2 separate regions of the Homo sapiens genome follow, and region 2 is linked to region 1. Evidence: promoter capture Hi-C in human tissues and cell types (Jung and others, 2019). All regions are on one chromosome and are shown on one strand. Each heading gives the region's core, a stretch centred on a gene start or on the middle of the fragment in contact. The rest is flanking DNA. Distances are from core to core; before and after follow the strand shown.

What was found. The method cuts DNA at HindIII sites, captures the fragments that hold promoters and counts their contacts. A contact is called where the count stands out against the background at its distance.
Region 2: a contact is called between a fragment that was not itself captured here and the fragment with the promoter of KLF6 in region 1, in 1 of the 25 tissues and cell types used here (IMR-90 fibroblasts).

What each region holds. Positions count from the first base shown.
Region 1 is chr10:3,783,892-3,786,675 of GRCh38, forward strand. It overlaps KLF6 (KLF transcription factor 6), which reads right to left and starts at 1,318. Exons shown (of 4, transcript NM_001300.6): 1 at 1,022-1,318. The coding sequence starts at 1,123. RefSeq lists enhancers at 1-139, 140-696, 697-1,252, silencers at 858-1,457, 1,708-1,987, 2,168-2,227 and a promoter at 1,119-2,056. The HindIII fragment of the contact is 14,996 bases long and covers 1-2,784 here.
Region 2 is chr10:4,804,445-4,807,148 of GRCh38, forward strand. No RefSeq gene overlaps it. Among named protein-coding and RNA genes, the nearest start is that of AKR1E2, 20 kb to the right of the region's middle. The HindIII fragment of the contact is 6,184 bases long and covers 1-2,704 here.

The DNA.
Region 1 (2,784 bases), core at 68-2,567:
TCCTAGGGAGCAGCTTCTTTGAGGAGGAAAAAAACAGGAGGGGGAGGGGGAAAAGGCAGGAGAGGACTGTGAACAATTAAGCAGGCGTGTGAAGGTTGCAACACCCTGCATTTCATCTTCCTTAAAGCTTTCGAGGCTTGGAAACCCACAGCCTCTATTTGATCTGGCAATTCACTTTGTGACGAAAAACAAACAGCACAGCAGGGCAGGGAGACAACAGTAAACCCTCCTGCGATCGCTGGAGAGACAATGGGAGGAGTGTCAGTCTCTCTCCCCTCGGGCGATGCTACCTATAAGCACGGGGACCTGGTAAGTTTCTTAAATTTCCAATGCCCCCAAATTCCAGTTCTACGACAATGTCGGAAACCGAGGTCCTTCTTTCCAAACTAAGACTTGAAGCAGTTTGGACGGGCTCATTGTCACAAGACTGACAAGTCACTGGGGTGTACACAGTTTTATTTTTATTTTTCTTGGTCAACAAGAGAAGCAGGGAAGACAAATAAGGCAGATCTAGGGGAAATGTTAGGCATTCCAAAGAGCAGAAAACACATTGGAAATGGTCTACAGTTTAAAAAAGACAAAAATAAAAGAGAGCTGGTCTACGTTCTGGGGGCAAAATGTGATTTTTTTAAAAAACTGTTAAGTACAAGCACCAAGAAACAAAACAAAAACAAAATCCGTTAAAAAAAAACAACAAAAAACAAACAAACAAAAAAAAAACACCTTGGCAGGCAGAGCAAGTTGGTCCCCATGACAAGCTCCAGCTGTGGCGTCTGGAGCGGGGACAGGCTCCGAACTCGTGCCAGGGGCTCGGCCGGGCTGTGCCGGGAGTTGGGGCTTCCCTGGGCGGACGCTGATCGCAGCCTGGAGGATCGATCGGCGGGGGCGCTGCGCCCGCTCCCCCGGTGACAGCGCGGGGCCCAGGCCCAGCGGACCGCAGAGAGCACCGGGTCTGAACCCCAAACAGCCGACCCGGCCCGCGCCCCGGCGCCCGCAGGGAACCGCGGCCGGCTGCGTTTACCTGTTGCCAGTACTCCTCCAGAGACGGCAGCGCCGAGAAGTAGCCGGTCTCGTGCACGATCTGGAGCTCCTGGAAGATGCTGCACATGGGGAGCACGTCCATGTCGGGCCGGGTTGGACGGAGCCCGCGGTCGCGAGGGCGGCGAGGCGCGCGGTGGGAGCCGGAGCCGAAAGTCTCCCCGGAGCGCAGGTGAAAGTTTCATGCAAACTCCAGGCTCGCAGAGACGCCCGGCCGGACCCTCCCGCAGCCCGCAGCGCGCGGAGCCCACACAATATTTGCAAACACCGGACTGACTGCAAACGTAACCCCTGCAAAACTTCCCTATTCAAAGCTCCGCTGCCAGCCTCCCCCTCCGCCCCCGCCTGGCTCCCCCCACTCCCCCTCCCCCCACGTGACTCGCCCCGCGCCCGCCCCGTGCGCGGCCCAATCCCGTGGCTCCCGGCCCGGGGGCTGCGCGCCGATGATGTCAGCTCCGGCCAATCGCAGGCGGCGACACACAGCGGCCCCGCCTGGCGTGACCGAGACTCTCCATCACGGCCCGCACCATTGGCTCAATTCGAACTCTGCTCGTTCTGATTGGAAAGTGGCCTCGCAGGCTATTTTTAGCAGGGTATATAAGGCGCGGGCGGCCGCGCGCCGGAGGAGTCCGCGCTGTGAGGTGCGCGGCCGAGCCCTGCACTGCGCCCGCGGCCGGAGCTAAGGGAGCCGGGGCTGGGAGAGCCGGGGCGGGCCGCGTCGCCTGTCCCCAGTCCCGGTCTCTCTTCCCCGCTGCCCGGTCCCGCCACCCCACGCCCGTCCCGGTCACCAAGCCGGGCCCTGTCGCCGCGCGAGCCCCGGTTCCGGCAGCTCACCCTGCGGGCGGCCGTCCGGTCCCGGGGCCGCCCGGTTCCCCCCCGTCCCCTTCTATGCCCGAGGCCGCCCCGTCCCCAACTGTCCCCTTCTACGCCGGGGGCTTCCCGGTCGCCAACTGTCCCCTTCTATGCCCGGGGCCGCCCCGTCCCCAACTGTCCTCTTCTGCGCCGCTCTGTTTCCCTACATCCCCCTAGTCATCCTCTGTTCTCTAACCTTGGGGTACCCCTCTCTGTCCTCCTCCACCTCCGGGTCCCTCTCTGTCCCCCTCCATCCCTGAGCCCGTCTCCGTCCCCCTCCAGTCCTAGGGTCCCCTCTGTCCTCCGGGCCACCAGAGTGGGGGAGGGGAGCACGCAGGCTCCCCTTGGAATTGGGAGAAACGTGTTTATCTTGTAGAGGGCGATCTTAGCCCTCACCAAGGTTAACAGCTAGGTTTTCCCATGAACGTGTAAACAATTTAGGTGCAAGCCGACATTTAGTGTGTGTGTTTTTTTCCATATAAATTATCTCCTAAAATATACCGTAATGTTCATTTTTAAGAAAAATGTCGAGACTCGAACCAGAGCATTTTAAAATCCAAAATGGAAAACTGAATTGTAACTGTATTATAGTTTTTGTTTCAAAATAGTTTAATGAACATTAAACATTTTGAAAGAATGGACTATGTAAAAAAAAATTAGAGGGTTTTGTATGTTAAGTTTTAGAGGGTCCGGCAGAAGCATGTGGCTGTAAGACTAGGTGGGGACCTTAGTGAGTCTGGAGTGGAGAAAGGAGGTTTGTCTTGTACCTGCGGTATGTGGGCGGTGAAGGTTATGCAGAGTGAATTGACAGTGTTCTTGGCTCGTGTTCATCACATTTACCCCAGCAACTGAGAGCCAGGACCAGCCCTTCTTGGGGACCTGCACCTTAACTCT
Region 2 (2,704 bases), core at 191-2,690, 1.0 Mb after region 1:
GCAGCGAAGGCATCGCTCATCTCGGGCTTTTGAGACGCGTGCCATTATCAAGCCTAACCGTGCAAACCAGAGATGCAGAGCTGACTTAAAAAGCTGCTGTTTTGTCCCAAGAAAATCCCTTAATACAGTATCTGTTTTTCATAGTAGTTTGGCTAAGCTTCTGACATTACCATGACTTGCTTGCCCATGTTTCTAAACCATACTGACTCAAGGAAAAGGAGTCTTTGGATAGAGATAACATGCAATTGAAAATCTGATGATATTTTGCATAGTCAGAAAGACTTTTCCTGCTTAGAAAATGTTTTCTGTATAACACAGATGTGTTTTTCAATGCCTTGGAATTTCCTCTTTAGAAAATATGTTGAGTCAACCGAATTTTTAAAGAAAATAATTATATCCTGAATTTAGCTCTGCTGAAAGAGCATGCAAAAGTTGCAATCATGTCCTTTGTAAATGTGTTTTAAAGTTTTCCCAGAGTTTATCACGTGAGGATGAAATGAAGGAGCTGGGGTCTCAGGGTTAATGTATACTTTGATTTGCAGAAGAATAAGAAAGTGTATACAGGTAAAAATAAAATACATATGTGCCAACATGTACATTATCACTAATCCTCAGAATTTAAAAACCTCTACTTTTTAATATTCAAAATCCTTATTGGTCCTTATTTGGAATATGTTTATCATTAAAAGATTCCTAGTAAAATAAAGATTGGAAGTGGGTAAATGTGTGAATATGGTAGAAAGGTCTCTTCATGTTTCCAGTTTCCAGGGAGGATTACAAACAAAGCCACTTTAAATGTTTTTTTCCAAAGTGACTATACCATTGGCATTTCTACCAGCAATAGAGGAGAGTTCTGTTTGGTCAGCATCTTTGCTGACACTTATGTAGCCAGTGCTTTTTTATTTTGATTATTCTAATAGAGGTGTAGTAGTATCTTATTGTGGTTTAATTTGAATTCCTGTAATAATTAAGAATATTCAGCATCTTTTCACGTTTATTTTCTATTCATATATCTTGGTGAAATGTCTTATCAAATATTTTGCCCAATTTTTATTGCTCTCTTTCTTCACTATTGAATTTTCAAAGTTTATTATATATTTTGAATGTTACTTATTGATTAAATATATGTTTTGCTAGTATTTTCTCATAGTGTTTGGCTTGTCTTTACATTTTCTTAACAGGGTCTTTCAAAAGGCAGGATTTCTTAATTTTGATTAATTATATTTGACCTTTTCTTTCAAGGACAGTGTTTTTATTCTTATATCTAAGAACTCTTTGCTGAACTTACGGTCATCAAGTTTACTTCTAGAAATTTTATATGTCAAAACCACAATGATATACCATCTCACGCCAGTCAGAATGGCGATTATTAAAAAGTCAAGAAACAATAGATGCCGGCAAGGCTGTGGAGGAATAGGAAGGCTTTTAAACTGTTGGTGGGAATGTAAATTAGTTTAACAATTTTGGAAAACAGTGTGGTGATTCCTCAAGGATCTAGAACCAGAATTATCATTTGACCCACCAATCCCATTCCTGGGTATATACCCAAAGGAATATAAATCATTCTACTATAAAGACACACGCACATGTATATTTACTGCAGCACTATTCACAATAGCAAAGACTTGGAACCAACCCGAATGCCCATCAGTGATAGACTGGATAAAGAAAATGTGGCACATATACACCATGGAATACTATTCAGCCACAAAAAGGAATGAGATCATGTCCTTTGTAGGGACATGGATAAACCTGGAAGCCATCATTCTCAGCAAACTAACACAGGAACAGAAAACCAAACACTGCATGTTCTCACTCATAAGTACGAGTCGAACAATGAGAACACATGGACACAGGGAGGGGAACAACACACACCAGGGCCTGTTGGGGGACGGGGAGCAAGGGGAGGAAACATACAGGACAAGTCAATAGGTACAGCAAACCACCATGGCACACGTGTACCTATGTAACAAACCTGCATGTTCTGCACATGTATCCTGGAACTTAAAGCAATTTTAAAAACAAACTTTATATGTTTTAATATTTAAGTCTATAATCTATTTTGAGTTAATTTTTCTATACAGTGCAAGATATGGGTCAAAGTGCAATTTTTATGCATACGAATATCCCAGCATCGATTACTACAAAGACTTTCCTTTCTCAATTGAATTGCCTTTGCAAAGCTTTGTAGAAAATCAATTGACAATATTTAGCAAGTCTATTTCTGGACTCTTTTCAGTTTCATTCATTCAGGTGTCTATCCTTCTGCTAATGCCACACTGACTTGACTACTGCAGCTTTACAGTGAGCCTTGAGCCAGGTAGCGTGAGCCCTCCAATTATGTTCTCCCTTTTTCAGTGTGGTTTGGGTTATTCTTTTGAATTTTTACTAAATTTTAGAAGCACTGTGTCAACTCTTATTTTAAAAATCACGTGTCATGTTGATTCAAATTGCATTAATTCTATAAATTAATTTGGGGAGAAATGACAATATCACTTGAGTCTTCCAGATCATGACTAGAGAACATCTTCATGTCTTTTTAGGTGGTCTTTAATCAATGTTTCTTTCATACTTTTTTTTAAATTTTTTGACATACAGGTCATTCACAGAGTTTGTTACATTTATACATCATAATTATTTTAGGTTTTTGGTGCTATTAAAATGGCAGTCTTGAAATTTCAATTTCAAATTGTTCATTGCTAGC